Regions from separate parts of the Homo sapiens genome. Here regions 1, 2, 3, 4 and 6 are each linked to region 5. The links are contacts of gene promoters, found by promoter capture Hi-C in blood cells and fetal thymus (Javierre and others, 2016). All regions are on one chromosome and are shown on one strand. Each heading gives the region's core, a stretch centred on a gene start or on the middle of the fragment in contact. The rest is flanking DNA. Distances are from core to core; before and after follow the strand shown. Region 1 has its middle 8.2 kb from the start of CETN3. Region 2 holds the start of ARRDC3 (arrestin domain containing 3). Region 3 overlaps TMEM167A (transmembrane protein 167A). Region 4 has its middle 3.5 kb from the start of RPS23. Region 5 holds the start of RASA1 (RAS p21 protein activator 1). Region 6 overlaps CETN3 (centrin 3).

Region 1 (2,700 bases), core at 124-2,623, 3.2 Mb before region 5:
AATTTATTTATTTTCTGTTTTGTTGGTGAAGCCCAATTTATTATTTTCTGTTTTGCCGTTTCGGTACTTTCCACTGAAGATCCTTCCTGATCCCTTTCTCCAGTTGCCATTGTTCTCTCCAGAGTTAACCACTGGTTAAATAGCTTGGTGTGTATTTTATTTATATAAAGATATTTTATTTATATAAAAATGTGCACTTGGGCCAGGTACGGTGGCTCACGCCTATAGTCCCAGCACTTTGGGAGGCCAATGCAGGTGGATCACCCGAGGTTGGAGTTCGAGACCAGCCTGACCAACGTGGTGAAACCCCATCTCTACTAAAAATACAAAAATCAGCCAGGATTGGTGGCACGGGCTTGTACTCTCAGCTACTTGGAAGGCTGAGGCAGGAGAATCGCTTGAACCTGGGAGGCAGAGGTTGCAGTGAACTGAGATTGCACCGCTGGACTCGAGCCTGAGTGACAAAACAAGATTCTGTCTCAAAAAAAAAAAAAAGTACATTTGTGTACTCAGATCTATCATTATTTTATGGCTTCTAATGTTGGTAATTATGCTGAGGAAGTCTTTCTGAATTCTAAAATTATTAAACTAAGTATATGTTCTTTTAACTTTTTTTATAGTTAAACTTTCAACTTGTTTTGATTGTATTTTGATACAAAATCTGAAATGTGGATCTAACTTTATTTTCCCAATGGACTGTAGAATACATTTTGTCCAGATGAATTTTTCCTTCTATTCTGCATTTTTATCAAAGTACTTCATAGATGTGGTTTACTAAATATAGTTCATAAGGGTAAAAGTCGCCTGTCCCATTCTTTTCCATTTTCTGTTTCAACTGTGAAAGCAGTTGTGGGGACAAAATAAAGAATTTAGAAAATTTGCCTGTCATATACCATTTCTGAGTTCCTGAAGATATACTCCAGCAAAGTAAGAGTGAAACATAACAGGATGAAGATGTGAAATATGAGAAACAGTGAGTTTAACCAAGGAATCCAACTGTTGTTTTACAGATCTAAAAAGCAATTGGGCAATTGGTCTCAGTTGGAATAGGTAATCAGTGTCTCATTTCCCATTTCCCAGAGGTAATACATTTTAAGTACTCCAACAGTCTCATCTTTTTAAGAAAATAGACCATTTTTTAGAGCAGTTTTAGGTTCACAGCAAAATTGAGCAGAAATTTCAGAGCTCACGTATCCTCTGCCCCTATACTTGTGCAACCTCTCCCCTACTATCAACATCTTGCATGAGAGAGGTATATTTATGACAACTGATGAACCTACATTTGAGAGACAGGACTAGTTGGATTTCCTAGGCTGACTAAGAATTCCTAAGCCTAGCTGGGGAAGTGACTGCACCTACCTTTAAACACAGGGCTTGTAACTCAGCTCACTAAAATACCAATTAGGCTAAAAGCAGGAGGTAAAGAAATAGTCAATCATCTATCACCTGAGAGCACAGGGGGAGGGACAATGATCAGGATAAAAACCCAGGCGTTCCAGCCAGCAGTGGCAACTCCCTTTGGGTGCCCTCCTGTTGTATGGGAGCTCTGTTTTCACTCTATTAAATCTTGCAACTGCACACTCTTCTGGTCCCTGTTTGTTCTGGCTCGAGCTGAGCTTTCGCTCACTGTCCACCACTGCTGATCGCTGTCATTGCAGACACTGCTGCTGACTTCCACCCTCCAGATCCAGCAGGGTGTCCACTGCACTTCTGATCCAGTGAGGCACCCATTGCCACTCCTGATGGGGCTAAAGGCTCACCATTGTTCCTGTGCAGCTAAGTGCCCAGGTTCGTCCTAATCAAGCTGAACACTAGTCGCTGGGTTCCACAGTTCTCTTCCATGACCCACAGCTTCTAATAGAGCTATTACACTCACTGCATGGCCCAAGGTTCCATTCCTTGGAATCTGTGAGGCCAAGAACTCCAGGTCAGAGAGCAAAAGGCTTGCCACCATCTTGGGAGTGGCCCGCCACCATCTTGGGAACTCTTAAGAACAAAGACCTGCCAGTAACACATTGATGTGTTATCACATTATTATCATCTGAAGTAAAGAGCTCACATTAAGATTCACTTTTGGTGTTGTACATTCCATGGGTATTAACAAATATATCATTAAATCTGTCCATTATTATAGGATCATATAGAATAGTGTTCACTGCCCTAAACATCCTCTGTGCTCTGCCTATTCATGCCTCCTCTGCCTGATCCCTGATGGCCACTGATCTTTTTGCTGCCTCCGTAGTTTTTATCTTTTCCAAAATGTCACATTGTTGGAATCATACAGTATGTAGCCTTTCAGATTTGCCTTCTTTTACTTAGTAATATGCATGTAAGTTTCCTTCATGTTATTTCATGGCTTGATAGCTTTTTTCTTTTTACTGAGTTCTTTTTATTTTTTTGAGACAGTCTAACTCTGTCACCCAGGCTAGAGTGCAGTGGCACAGTAGTTCCCTGCAACCTTGACCTCCTGGGCTCAAGCAATCCTCCTGCCTTAGCTTCTCAAGCAGCTAGGACCACAGGTGTGTGCCATCGTGCCTAACTATTTAAAACATTTTTGGGGGCTGGGTATGGTGGCTCACACCTGTAATCCCAAGACTTTGACAGGCAGAGGCGGGTGGATCACTTGAGGTCAGCAGTTCCAGACCAGCCTGCGCAACATGGTGAAACCCTGTCTCTCCTAAAAATAAAAAAATTAGCCGG
Region 2 (2,700 bases), core at 196-2,695, 4.1 Mb before region 5:
CGCCTGAACCCGGGAGGCAGAGGCCGCAGAGAGCCTAGATTGTGCCACTGCACTCCAGCCTGGGCAACAGAGTGAGACTCCATCTCAAAAAATAAAAATATAATGAAAATGGCAGCTGGTAAGAATTTCTTGGAAATTTGCCAGTTACCTAAGTATTTAAGAAGACACAGTAAAAAGAAAATTTTAAAAATAGCAAAATAAATAATAAAGACAACTATTCAAAAGATCCTGAAAGCTTCAAACACAAAGAATAATGTACTACACAGTGACAGGAATGAAACATTTAATATTTTAAAACAATTTTCCAAACTACAAATAAATTTCTTAGACTTCTTTTTTATTAAATGCAATTCTGGTGTATTTATATAGCTAATTCTTATTTTTTCTGAAATGAGTTATATTCTAATTAAATAAATTTTACTAAAAAAATCCGAATTCAGCTGTTCACTAACCCTTAATAATTTTTAACATAAATGTAGACACAAATGTGCAATGAATTTATGTATTCATTATGGACTACACTTTTAAATCCATTCCTTGCTCAGTGGTTTTCGAATGCTTATTAAATATCATTGACCTTATGCTGAGGAAAAGCTGTCATTCTAGGAAATTCACCACTTCTACCACTAGGTGGAGAAAAAACACAAGTAGTATCTGTAATCAAAGCTAGTACAAGGCCCCAGGTACTTTACCTAGAATTTCCACCAGGTGTCAACCAAGAGGTAGGGAAAAGATAAGACTGTTTTTCCCACTTAAATATGCAAATTTATAATTTTATGCATAGCGATCTAAACTCTGAAATAAATGGCCTGCTCATTAATTGTCTAGTTTGCATATTTATACTCTTTATATATTGCTGTTGAGTCCAAGATATTGCCTTGTCAACTAAAATCCAACCCCCAAAAGCTTAGTTTCTTTTGAAATAAAACAGCAAGACCAATAAGTTTAGTTTATTGTGACTCATAGGCTCAACCTATCCATATACACTACGCAAAAGAATCTAAAACGTTTAGACACGGACAGCCAAAAATCTTCCAAGGTATTTTTGGTCATACATATATATATAGAGAGAGCACCAGATTCATATTTTTTCTTTCTACATTTCTCTTGTAAGGCAGTTCTGTTGATTGCCAGTAATCTAGATGAGTTTATGCTGTTATGCTCTGAATCCCAGTGTGATGTGACGAAAGCACTGCTATTTTTTACCAAACATTCACAATAAAAAGAGAAATGTACCTATATTTAAGATGTATCATGAGAATTACTACGTTAAATGGTCCAAGGCTCTCGGCCGAAAATTAAAGCTTCACACAGTTAAATCCCTATTTATATACCAAATCATGCTTTTTAAAAACAATTTTATGCGCTTCACTAATTTCTAACAAAGATTTTCCGATTCTGTTGCAAACAATATGTCAGCTAAACCACTATGTCATATGCCTTTTATAAGGTAGTACTTTTTTAGGCCGAACTCTATTCTTATTCCTCTGGACACAGGAGTTGTAATCATGTCTTACTCTGCAAATCTAGCCGTAGGTGGTGTCTTAAAAGGACTTTTTCTTCCTTCGAGGAAGTGATCAAGCTTCCCCCAGCCCCCACCCGTGTCATCCTGGAAACAACTTGGTTGTTTTTCGGTGCTAATTAAGCAATGTAGGAGAAAGAAGTTGAGGAGACAGCAAAGCCTATTGATTACATTGTACTTGCTTCTCTACCTCGCTCTTCAAAGGATTAAGGTTCCTTTGACCTCGACTGAGTTCATTTCCAACCTGCCTACAAAGTACTGGTTTAAAAAAAAAAAATCCAAGCAAAGTATGCTCTTGTCTATGAACAATATTTCTTGTCCGGTTTTATTACGTTTTCTTTGGAAATTCGTTAGATTATGCTCAACAATCGGCCGCTTGCCCAACCGGTTTCTCCCTTCCCCCATCTCTCTTCACACATCACTTTTTCCTCCTCCCATCCAGGCAGTTGGTAAAACGCTGCAGTGCCGGTAACGCACGCTTCGGGCTGGTCGCTGCAGTTTATCCTAACTTGGCTTTGCAAACTCCCCACCCAGCCCTTGTACCCTCGCACCCCACTCTGCCATTATCTTTCTAGTAGAGTGCGCTCGGTAACGGGCTCCAGATAGCACGTCGAGGGTATACGGTAGCCTGCCTACCAATAGGAGCCCACAATGAAGAGAAGTCAGGTTCAGCCGGCCAGCAGCTCCAGTATCTCCTTCCCCTAGCTCTACACCTACTGTACCCGGGAGCGAGCGGGCAAGGGAGCGAGCGCGGCGCGGCGCGGCGCGGGAGGGGGCGCGCAGGGAGGGCGGACAGCAGCCGCGGCCTGCGCCTGCGCACTGGGGTTGTTTTTCACAAAGCTGCTCTTAAAGTGAGCTGGCAGCTTTTAGCCGCCCGTCTTTGTAAGGAGACCACTGAGACGAGCGGGAGCGCGGAGCAGCAGCCTCTGCTGCCCTGACTTTTTAAGAAATCTCAATGAACTATTTGTAGAGAATCACTGATCCGGCCTGCAAGCATTTTGCACGGCAAAAATATCGATCAGTGTTAAGTGAAGATCACATTTTATATGCGATCTTGACTTTTTTGTCTTACATTATATTTTTATAGATTTTGTTATAAACATGGTGCTGGGAAAGGTGAAGAGTTTGACAATAAGCTTTGACTGTCTTAATGACAGCAATGTCCCTGTGTATTCTAG
Region 3 (2,700 bases), core at 79-2,578, 4.2 Mb after region 5:
GGTTTGTCAACATTGTAAGTAATTTCATGTCTAGACCCCTTCCTTAGCTTTGTATTGACCTTGCATCTATTCATTGATTAATTATTGCATCTCCTGTAGTGGTGGCCAAATAAAGTCTGTGAATTATTTTTATTATTTCAAAACACCTAACCAAATGTGATTTACTTCAAAATGATCAAATAAAGTAACTGACTCAAGTTTATATCCTTCCGGTTTGGGTAAATTAACTCAGTTCAATAACACTAGTTGTTTCAAGCATATCAAAAGATCTTATTGATTATGAGTTGTCAGATAAGTCTACAATGCAGAGGGTTAGTAAAAGAGCCCTTGATGACAAATCGTTTGGAGGCCTCCATTGCCATGTTTTAGAAGAATGACATAGCTCTCAGAGTAATGGTCAAGATAACCTGCGTACTCAGTCTTACAGAACCTGCGTACTCAGTCGTACAGATCTTTTGAAAGTGTATATCTCTTAAGAATTAAAAGAAGTCAGAAGAACACACACTTTCCAGTGTGCAAGCACCTTCAAAGCTTGCTGCTTGATAGAATAGAAAATCTGAATTCCAGGAGGTGATAGAAGATGTGGATACTGAATGGAAATTACCTCAGGTCTTTATTTTACCCTACAGCCTAGGTCCTTAACATAAATATAAGGAAATTTGCATCTTTCTACTTGATTTTCCAAAATATTCTTGAGAAGTAAGCATATATGCAAAGCCATACATGGAGGTTTCTCTTGAAGAGTTAACAAAATACTGTATTCAGCAATCTGATCTACACTGGTTTTTGAATGTGTATTTTTTCTTTGGAATCCAAGTATGCTCTTGGATTTGTTAAAATGTTCATTATTGCCAGTTGCGTTCAAGTTCCTGTTCATTTGACACTTTTCAGTGACTTCTCTGTGTACTATATTTTAATAGTCACAGGGGATTGATGAAAACCTCAATAGAATAGACAATCACAGTACAGTATGATGTGTTCTATAACATACACATTGTTATGTGTATGTATTATGCACATACAAAAATCCTGACTCTGCTTGGTATAGTGAGTGGGAACAGGAAAGACATCAGAGGAGGTGAATCTTGAGTTGAGATTGGACGCATGAGTCAGTTCACCAAGCAGGCAAGAACAGATAGCATGTGCAAAACTCAATAGAGTACCTTGGAAAAGGTTTCATGACTTAAAGGCCCTGAAAAAAATTAAACAAGGTAAATGAATTTGACTTACCACCTTTTAATCATCTTTTCCTCTGTTTTGTGATTAAATATGCTTACCTTTTCTTAGATTCCTCCTTTCCCTTTTAATAACATTTTTCTGTTGAAAATTGCAATTATTTTTTCACTGAAGAGGAACATCTGTTTCCTTTAACCCTGAGACTAAAATTTTATGTCACCAGACAACAGATGCTAAGCATTAAGGGGAATGCTATAGGTGGCAGGCTAATGTCCGTAAGTTAGAAACACACTTTTGACCAGAGTCTGAGTACATCTAAAAGACTTACCACCTAAGATTATTTGTTTTAAACTTTAGAGGCTTTAAACCCCCAGAACAAAGTTGTATATATCATATATTTCATACTTGTAAATGGTTTTCTTTTGTAAATGGCTTCACACACAAACGTATATACACACTCTACTTTCCTAATAGGCATGTTTTTAAGTGCCTTTTTATCTTCTATTATGAAAACATTCAAACATAAAGAGGTAGAAGCCTATAATGAACCCTCATATTCTCAGCATTTTATCATCAACCCTACCCCTCTCCCACCACACATGCACTGGATTATTTAGAAACCAATCCTGAACATTATATCATTTAAGCATGTTTTCTTTAAAAACACATTTGGAGAAGGAAAGAGAACACATTACAAAGTCATGAATTTAGATACTGCATTAGGAAAATGATAAACCTACTTTGAAGATTTGTTTTCCAACCATTTTACTGTAGGAATCTTTTGCTTAAAATACAGTAAGATTCTCATTATTCCCTGAACGTGCCAATGACTTTTTCTGTAGGGTTTTTTTCCCACATTTTTTTTTCTCTTCTGGAGCTTGCTATTTGCCCATCTGAATGGTGCCCTTTCAAGGTTTGACTCCGTTCCTGCTTTCTACATGAAGCTTTTCCTGACTTTTTCTTACAAAAATGGCATTTTTTGTCTGCATAACTCACTTCCACATTCAACAATGAGTTACTATTTACTTTTTAAAGTACATGCTCTGTTTTCACTTGATTACTTGATTATAACTGCTGTGTGCCTCAGTCTCATGTATAAAATACAGGTAATAACAATCATGAATAAAATTCAGGTAATATTTACCCCAGATACATGAGGATAACATAAAACAAGTACTCAGTGAATATCAGTAATTGCTATTGTTAGCCATAAACTCCTGTAGGGAAGGAATCATACCATGTGCCTTTTTTTTAATCCCCACTGCCTCATTTCTCAGACAAAGTGGATACCAAATACACATTTAGTTATGTTGGGAGGAAATCTGCTTTATTTTCTATGAGGTCATTATCCAATATTATTTATTAATATATTCACATACATATTCAAAATATGACCTTTGAAAGATAAGCATTGTGAGATACCATGCTTTTTATCTACAATTGATCATGAGCTAATTCATTGATTTATGTTATAAAATGTGTATCACTGGCTTTCACAGGTTTAAGATTAAAACCCAATTTAAT
Region 4 (2,700 bases), core at 199-2,698, 5.0 Mb after region 5:
TGGAGACAGAGTCTTGCTCTGTTGCCCAGGCTACAGTGCAGTAGTGTGATCTCGGTTCACTGCAACCTCTGCCACCCGGGTTCAAGCGATTCTCCTGCCTCAGCCTCCCGAGTAGCTGGGACTACAGGCAGACGCGACCATGCCCAGCTAATTCTTTTTTTCTTTGTATTTTTAGTAAAGAGATGGGGTTTCACTATGTTGGCCAGGCTGGTCTTGAACTCCTGACCTCAAGTGATCCACCTGCCTCAGTCTCCGAAAGTGCTAGGATTACAGATGTGAGCCACCATGGCTGGTCTATTCCTGTCCTTTGTCATGTTTTCTCACTGTATTATTTGTTCTTTTATATTATTCTGTAGAAGGGATTTTTTTGTTTGTTTCTTTTGAGACAGAGTCTCACTTTGTTGCCCAGGCTGGAGTGCAATGGAGCGATCTCGGCTCACTGCAACCTCTGCCTCCTCAGTTCAAGCGATTTTCCTGCCTCAGCCTCCTGAGTAACTGGGATTACAGGCATGCGCCACCACACCCGGCTAATTTTTGTATTTTCAGTAGAGAGGGGGTTTCACCATGTTGGCCAGGCTGGTCTCGAATTCCTGACCTCACGTGATCCCCCTGCCTCGGCCTCCCAAAGTGCTGGGATTACAGGTGTGAGCCACCACGCCCGGCCAGAAATTTTTTAAAATATTAATCCTTTGTAAGTTTTGTGGCTATGAATAGCAATTCTCAGTATGGAACTTGTCTTTTCACTTTCTTTCAGATGTTTTTGATGAATAGAGGGTCTTAATTTTAATATGATCAAATTTATCATTCTTGTCATGTGTAGAAACATTTTCCTTTCCTAAGTTCAAAAAGATATTCACCTTTGTTCTCTATTAAGAATTTCAAAGTTTTCTTGTTGATATTTAAGCCCTTAATTTATCCAGAGTTGATTTATGCTTTCAGTGTAAGACAGTGACACAATTTCATTGAGTAATCACTTTTTGTGTGGCTCCATCTTTTTTAAATATTATTTTTAAATTATTTATTCTTTAACAAAATCTGTGTATATTTATGGTTTACAACATATTTTAAATATATATGTACATTGTACAATGGTTAAATAGAGCTAACTAACATATGCATTACCTCAAATACTTTTGTATCATTTTTCTGTGGTGAGAACACTTAAAATCTATTCTTTTAGCAATTTTCAATATAAACTTTGTTATTTATACAGTTGACCCTTGAACAACATGGGGGTTAGGGATGCTGACCTCCCCACACAGTAGAAAATCTGTGTATAACTTCCGACTTTCCGAAAACTTAACTACTAATAGCCTACTGTTGACTGGAACTCTTACTGATAACATAAACAGCCTATTAACACATATTTCATGTTACGTGTATTACATACCATATTCTTACAATAAATTAAGCCACAGAAATGAATGTTAATAACAAAATTAGAAAGAAGAGAAAATTTATTTACTACTCATTAAATGGAAATGGATCATCATAAAGGTCATCACATTGAGTAGGCTGAGGAGGAGGAAGAGGAAGAGGAGTTTTTGCTTTCTCGGGGTGTCAGAGGCAGAAGAAAATCTGCCTGTATGTGGACCCACACAATTCAAACCCATATTGTTTGTGGGTCAACTGGAGTCACCATGTTATTCAACAAGTCTCTCGAAAATTTTCTCCTCCTGTCAAACTAAACCTTTGTATCCTTTGACCAACAGCTCCCCAGATCCCCCAAACTCCCACGCCCACCATTCTACTCACTGCTTCTATCCGTTCAAAATTTTTAGATTCCACATATAAGTGTAAACATGCAGTATTTGTGAATCTGAAGAAATACACATAACTCACTGATGTCACTTCATAAACACAGATTTCAAATGGGCTCTCAGAACTGCTCAAAAAACCTATTTTCTTGTCAATGCATTTTCCTACCATTCTAGATTAGGAGGCAGTATAAGAGGGGTCAAATACAAGATTCTAAAACCAGATTACCTGGGTTAAAATCTTACTTCTACCACTTACTAAATACGTGATCTTGGGGAAGTTAAACTCACCAAAGCCTCAGTTTTTGTATATCTATCCCTCAGTAAAATTATCGTTATCTGTCCCTCAGTAAAATTCCTTATGAGAATAAAATGAGTTAATAAATATAAGCCAAAAATAGAATCTGGCACATAGTAAATACTATCTAATGCTTATATTGTTATCATTGATGATGATTTCACATCTTACCTTCTCTCCTCAAACCTTTTTCTCCCACTCTTTCTCTTCACTGATGGCCTTGCTTTTTATTTCATTGAAAAAATTGAAAAAGTAAGTCAAAAGTGAAGAAGTTCCACAACTTCCTATCATCAAATCTTCCAATTTACTTGCAGCTGTACCTGTCACTCTACTACCATACATAAACTGTTATTGTTCCTACAGTTAACTCCTCCACTTGGGTACCCTTCTAGTCTACTTAAGGAGTTGCTCCTGCAATTATCCCTTCTCTGCTGAATAACCCATTTTTAATTTTCTCAACCTGATCAGCATACAAAAATGTCATAAAAGTTGCCATCTTAAAAATAAAACCCTCCAACTCCACATTCCCCTCCAAATAGGGTGCCATTTCTCTGCACATAAAAAATGTCTTTCAAAAATTGTCTATAGTTGCTGTCTAGACTTCCTTCCCTCCCATATTCTCTTCACTCCGATCCCATCGCCTTT
Region 5 (2,700 bases), core at 1-2,500:
ATTCCTACCCAAGAAACCTGAAACTTCAAAAACTTTTCCTAACAAACCACAGATGAAAAGGACAAAGTATGATTTACCCCTTCATTTCCACTTCTTTTCTGGAGCCAGCTTCCCAAATTCCTGAACAGCAGTCTTAACTTACTGGTTAGTTGGAGGAGCGGTCAACGGTATGGCCACCTCTTCCTCCTCGTATTCTGGTCCATCCAGAGAGTCACCTTCGTCCACTGTCCCGAGGCCCGCCCCCAAAGGGGGCAGGTAAGGGGGAGGGGGCAGAGGGGGAAAACCGCCGCCTGGCCCGAGAGTCTCAGCAAGCAACGAAGTGGGCAGTTTGGTGAGAGCCATGTCTCCACTAGGTCCAGCAACAGCAGCACCGGCCACGCCAGCAGCAGCACCAGCTACGCCAGCAGCAGTACCTCCCCCTGTCAGTCCAGCTCCCCCCAGTGCCCCTGCCACAGACCCGGCTCCTAGGAACTCTGACCCCAAAGCGGCTCCGCCACCCAGAGTTCCAGCCACTCCGGTCTCCACCAGCCCAGGATAGGGGGCGGCTGCCACAGGCAGGGCCGCGGGTATCTTCACCCGACACACTGCGGGATAGGCACTGGAGCCCGCTGCCGCGCCGCCTCCTCCAGCTCCGGCTGTTACCGGGCCGCCCTCCTCACTGCCGGCCTCGGCCGCCATCATGTTGAAGCCCGCTCTACTCTGCCCTACCCTGCCCGCCCGGGAGCCCCAGGGGCCACCAGGCCCGGGCTCCGAGCAGCCCCACCCAGACGCGTCTCCCCTTCAGCTCCCCAGGCTGAGGAAACAACAACAAAAGGAGAGAGCCCGCCGCCGCGCCCCCTCCTAGGGCCACAGCCCAGGCTCCCCAGCTGCCTGGGTTACGGGAAGCCAAGTGGGCAAAAAACCCAACGCCTGCACAAACGCCACCCAAACCTCACCGCACACACCCACACTCACGCACACAAACACATGTACAGAAGCGAAAACTTCCTCGCTGCACTAAAGAGGAAAGGAAGCACAGGGAAAGAGGCTGAGGCTGCTACCGCTCCTTCAGCCGCCACCACCGCTTCTTCACCACCCCAGTTCCGGCCACCCACACCGCAGCCACCGCCGGTGCCGCTGCTGAGGCTGGGGCCACTGCAGCCGCTTCATCCTCCACCAGGCAGATGAGAGGGGTGGGGGGGCAAGAGAAAGGGGGGCGGGGTAACGAGGAAATCGACTGAACTGCTCACTACCTGGAGCTCTCAGTGAGTGAAACGGGAGAGAGAGAAAGGAAGGCGGGGCAGGGGAGGAGGGACGGAGGGAAGGAAGGGCGGAGAAGGGAGAGGGCAGCTTGTGCGCAGGCGCGTTCCCGGAGCGGGGGCGGGGGGCCGGGCCGGGAGGAAAAGGAAGAGTCCAGAGGGAAGGAAGCGGCGGGGACGCGCGGTGCGTGGTCGCGCTTGCTGTCCTCCTCCGGTTCCAAGCGTGTGGCGGCGCGGCCGCATCTCCTGTTGGCGTGGCCGGCGGCGCGCGCCTGTCTCCCGGGGCTTTGTTTGATGGGCGGGAGAAGAGGGAAGGGTACCTGAGCACGCGGGTGCTTGGCGCTGTTAAAGCCGGAGAGACCAGAGGGGGACCAGGAGGCGGTGGAGAGGAAGGAGGGGGAAAGGGAAAGGAAAATGCCCAGAAACTAGTTCCGTACTTCCTGACCAGTGGAAAAAACAGCCTTAACCAGCAGCGCAGAAACCGGGCAGGGGTCAGGTAGCTTTGAAGATCGGGGCAGTACTATTAATGTTTTCTTTTTCGTTGCATGCTATAAATCACTATGACTATCTCACACACACACAGTTAAAATAGATTCTGAAACTCCAAAACGAAATAAAGGGCACCATATGAGAAGGGTGAAGAATTTGAGTAGAAATAGTGGTTATGAAGTAAGATTTCTACCAGTATTTGCATACGTTTTTCTTTATCAACTGTCTCATATACTTACCTATGCCATTATAAGTCTGTTGGATACTGATGAAGAGGAGGAGGTGCCACAGAAAACACTAATCAATGCACTTTTGTCCTGGTTTGTGTGCAAAAGACTGCAGGACGTGATCCACAATGCAAGCACCTTCAACAAGTCAAATGTCAAGAATGTCCCAGAATGCTAGTTATAATTATATATCGTTTCAAAAGTAGCAATAAACTGAAAACTCATTTTTAATACAATTAAGGAGAAGGGTGTTATTTTGTCTTTTACACTAAAATGTATACAAACTATGCATTCATGTAGAGGGAGCTTCCCATGGTTTGAAATTAACAATATTGTTAAATTCTCCCAGGAGTGATCCCACATTAAATACCATTGGATATTGATCTTTGAGATCAATATTTTCTGTGCTAAGGATGATCAAACTAACACTCAGGATGGCAAGTGGCTGTGATAGAAACCCAGGAAAAAGAGAAAAGACCACTAAAAGACGTGACAAGATACAGGCAATGCATTGCCTTTGTAAGTTTGCACAGGCCTATTTACCTAGTCAATGACAACAATCCAACTTGATTAGGAGTAGTCCTGGGGCCTCCATTACGCATATCTCTTAGCAGTGTGCTACCTGGGAGAAGGAAGATGGACCAGTCACAGGAGCTAGAGTTCTCAAAGTGAATTCAGGCCGCAACATCCTAGGAATTCAGAAATGCCACCTCAGACCTTCTGAATCAGAAAATATGCAGCGATCC
Region 6 (2,700 bases), core at 8-2,507, 3.1 Mb before region 5:
CCAATCACCCTGTTGCTTCTTTAAGTACATTAATACTTTCAGCAAGCTGCTTTTTTGGTTCACCTGTCATGTAAATTATTTAATTGGTGAAGAAAATTTCTTAACACTTTTTTTCCTTGTCCTGCTTTTTTGTTGGGACTAAATTCAAAATAAGTTGAGTATGTGCCATAGAGTTAAGTGTGGTATTTTATTTTGGTGTTATGGCTGTAGATATGCCAGCTTCTTTTTGACTGAATATTTATGAGCTTTGATGATTTGCATACTTACAGTAATATACTTCAATTAGTTACTTGGAAGCCTTTTTGGATAAAATTAATGGATAAAAGGAAACTATTGAAAATATGTGTAGATGATATAATAGTCATTTGAATAGGTGATTATTGAACCAAATACGGGTGAAACAGCAGCAAAACAACAGCTTGTTGGAGACTTCGATTGTATTTTTTTCATTCTGGGTTCCTTAAACATTCCAGTATTTTCCATCTATAAGCAGTTGCTTTTTTTTTTTTTTTTAATGATTCTGTAACCTTCAACAGGACCGAGTTATTTTTAATAGCATAGTAAAGGCCATAAATACCTTTTCTTGTAGTGGCAGATAGTGTATATAATTACTTCAGAGATACTTATTTAGATACTGTTAGAATTTTATTTAGTAACTTACCAATTTTTATGCCATAGATTTTTATTTTAATTTTTATTGTGGCTATTGATTAAAGACTGGTAAAATTGAAAATACTTAAGCTTATTACTATGTTATTACATGTGATTATATTTAGTGTATTAAAATACACAATTACCATTGAGGTTTGAAACTACATTTATTTTTAGTTAGTTGTCTGAGAGTGATTTATCCAAACAAAATGGGTAAGCTTTAAGGAGACCTTCTTTGCAGAGGTTTTTTTTGGGTGGGCTTTCCTGCTATAGTCAGATTTGATCCTATTTACTACTTTGTAAATTTTGGAAAACCAAGAGGTTCTTCTAATCACAAAGGTATTAGTGGAATTTTCAAATGCTGTCTGAGATTGTGCCTGTGTCTGCGATGGCAGTACTTTTTGTCTCTTGCAGTTTTTCTTGTTTTGAAGTTGGATTAAATTTGAGGAAGAATCAGTGTTAGTATGACGTTTAGTCAGCAAGCAGCTTTTATTTAGTTAGCTCCAATTATTTTGTTGGTATGTCTCTCCACAGGTAGATGACACACTCCTTGTGTGCTTGATGTCAGTGGAGCCTAGTACAATTCTTGATAATAGTAGATCTTAAATAAATATGGTATAAATGTAGTCCTTTTTATTTTGCCTCTGTGTGATATAGTTTTGCTTACTTTTATAATAAGACAAGTTGCTCATGATAAAAAAGGTTAACATTTAAAATATGGATTTGATTTTTCTAATTTCAGGTTTATCTCGGGGTTTGGGGATCTCATTTGACATTTTATTGTCAGACTAAAAGTTGACAGTCACAGCTTTAATTCTCATCTAATATTTAGTTGATTTCACAAATGAATGCCTTTGTGATTATGCAGGTTTATTAAAATATATATGTTTTTAAACTGTAGTGACAGACTGGATATTGGAAAGAGATCCCCATGAAGAAATACTCAAGGCATTTAAACTATTTGATGATGATGATTCAGGTAAAATAAGCTTGAGGAATTTGCGACGTGTTGCTAGAGAATTGGGTGAAAACATGAGTGATGAAGAACTTCGAGCTATGATAGAAGAATTTGACAAAGATGGTGATGGAGAAAGTAAGTTTTAAGTGAAACGTATTTTCCAGGTTTTCCTGATGCTACACATGTAATACATTTTTCTAAAACCAAATGACTTGCAAGACTTTTTTGTAAACTTAACTGCTTCTTGTAATGGACCTTCTGTCTAAATAATTCACATATTCAATTTAGAATGAAGCAGATCTCTAAAACCAATTATACTTCAAGAAGGTCCTTCACTTTTCTCTGAAGGTGAAACCACCAAAATTTCAGCCTTTCAATATAATTTCAGTCTTTAATGGCTTCTCCCTCAACCTACATGCTAAGTTCTAAGTTCTATTGATTTTCCCCTTCAAATGTTTTGAATCTGTTTTTATCTTTGTCCATTGTGGCTGTCCTAGTTCAGGCCCTAATTTCTAGTTAGGAATGTTATAATGGCCTCATTTATTCTTGCCTTGGCTGCCTACTGGGTGCAGTGTCCTGCGTGTTGACTGGTGCTACACAATGAAAAAGGCAGATGTGGTTCTTGCTTTCACTTTGCAGTCTCTTGTAGTGTCCTAATTGCCCTTTCGGCATATAAAAGTCTCTAATCTCTTCTTCAGTCTCTTGGTATCATTCTTTTCCTAAAATATACATTTGATAATGCCATTTCTGTGTTTAGACACTTGAAACGATTCTTCAGTGCCTACAGAGTAAAGTTCAAAGCCTTCTATGATCTATCCCACCTTGAGTAACTGATTTTACTTTCCAGTGTATTCTTTCACTTTTCTTCTTTAACCCTCACCTCCTGTATGTACACATTTTGTCAACATATGCTATCCTGAAAACACATTTTTATGCTATTCGTTTCATCCTGCTGTTTCTTAATCTTAGAATGCTCTAATTGTTAATTTCTGCCTGCTAAAATGTGATTCATTCTCTCAGGTAAATATTAAACACCATCTTTTTCCCAAAAGCTTCCCATAACGCTCTATGAATCATGAGACTTCCATTGA

The links. The method cuts DNA at HindIII sites, captures the fragments that hold promoters and counts their contacts. A CHiCAGO score of 5 or more calls a contact.
Region 1: a contact is called between a fragment that was not itself captured here and the fragment with the promoter of RASA1 in region 5, in 2 of 17 cell types (non-activated CD4 T cells and total B cells). The highest score is 6.4, in non-activated CD4 T cells.
Region 2: a fragment that was not itself captured here is called in contact with the fragment with the promoter of RASA1 in region 5 in 5 of 17 cell types (non-activated CD4 T cells, naive B cells, total B cells and 2 more); the score reaches 8.4 in non-activated CD4 T cells.
Region 3: a contact is called between a fragment that was not itself captured here and the fragment with the promoter of RASA1 in region 5, in 1 of 17 cell types (activated CD4 T cells). The highest score is 5.1, in activated CD4 T cells.
Region 4: a contact is called between a fragment that was not itself captured here and the fragment with the promoter of RASA1 in region 5, in 2 of 17 cell types (non-activated CD4 T cells and monocytes). The highest score is 7.2, in non-activated CD4 T cells.
Region 6: a fragment that was not itself captured here is called in contact with the fragment with the promoter of RASA1 in region 5 in 1 of 17 cell types (total B cells); the score reaches 5.8 in total B cells.

What each region holds. Positions count from the first base shown.
Region 1 is chr5:90,416,637-90,419,336 of GRCh38, reverse strand. No RefSeq gene overlaps it. Among named protein-coding and RNA genes, the nearest start is that of CETN3, 8.2 kb to the right of the region's middle. The HindIII fragment of the contact is 7,813 bases long and covers 1-2,700 here.
Region 2 is chr5:91,383,016-91,385,715 of GRCh38, reverse strand. ARRDC3 (arrestin domain containing 3) reads left to right here and starts at 2,399. Exons shown (of 8, transcript NM_020801.4): 1 at 2,399-2,700. The coding sequence starts at 2,624. All of the region lies in intron 1 of ARRDC3-AS1 (ARRDC3 antisense RNA 1), which reads right to left. RefSeq lists enhancers at 1,633-1,932, 1,812-2,329 and a silencer at 2,183-2,492. The HindIII fragment of the contact is 278 bases long and covers 1,307-1,584 here.
Region 3 is chr5:83,067,982-83,070,681 of GRCh38, reverse strand. All of the region lies in intron 1 of TMEM167A (transmembrane protein 167A), which reads left to right. Among named protein-coding and RNA genes, the nearest start is that of TMEM167A, 8.1 kb to the left of the region's middle. The HindIII fragment of the contact is 1,589 bases long and covers 534-2,122 here.
Region 4 is chr5:82,280,538-82,283,237 of GRCh38, reverse strand. It overlaps the pseudogene ATP6AP1L. Among named protein-coding and RNA genes, the nearest start is that of RPS23, 3.5 kb to the right of the region's middle. The HindIII fragment of the contact is 5,869 bases long and covers 1-2,700 here.
Region 5 is chr5:87,266,433-87,269,132 of GRCh38, reverse strand. RASA1 (RAS p21 protein activator 1) reads right to left here and starts at 1,250. Exons shown (of 25, transcript NM_002890.3): 1 at 143-1,250. The coding sequence starts at 681. RefSeq lists enhancers at 479-528, 286-1,173, 1,227-1,521 and silencers at 709-888, 1,229-1,478. The HindIII fragment of the contact is 5,594 bases long and covers 1-2,700 here.
Region 6 is chr5:90,398,402-90,401,101 of GRCh38, reverse strand. CETN3 (centrin 3) reads left to right here. Exons shown (of 5, transcript NM_004365.4): 4 at 1,553-1,744. Among named protein-coding and RNA genes, the nearest start is that of CETN3, 10 kb to the left of the region's middle. The HindIII fragment of the contact is 771 bases long and covers 872-1,642 here.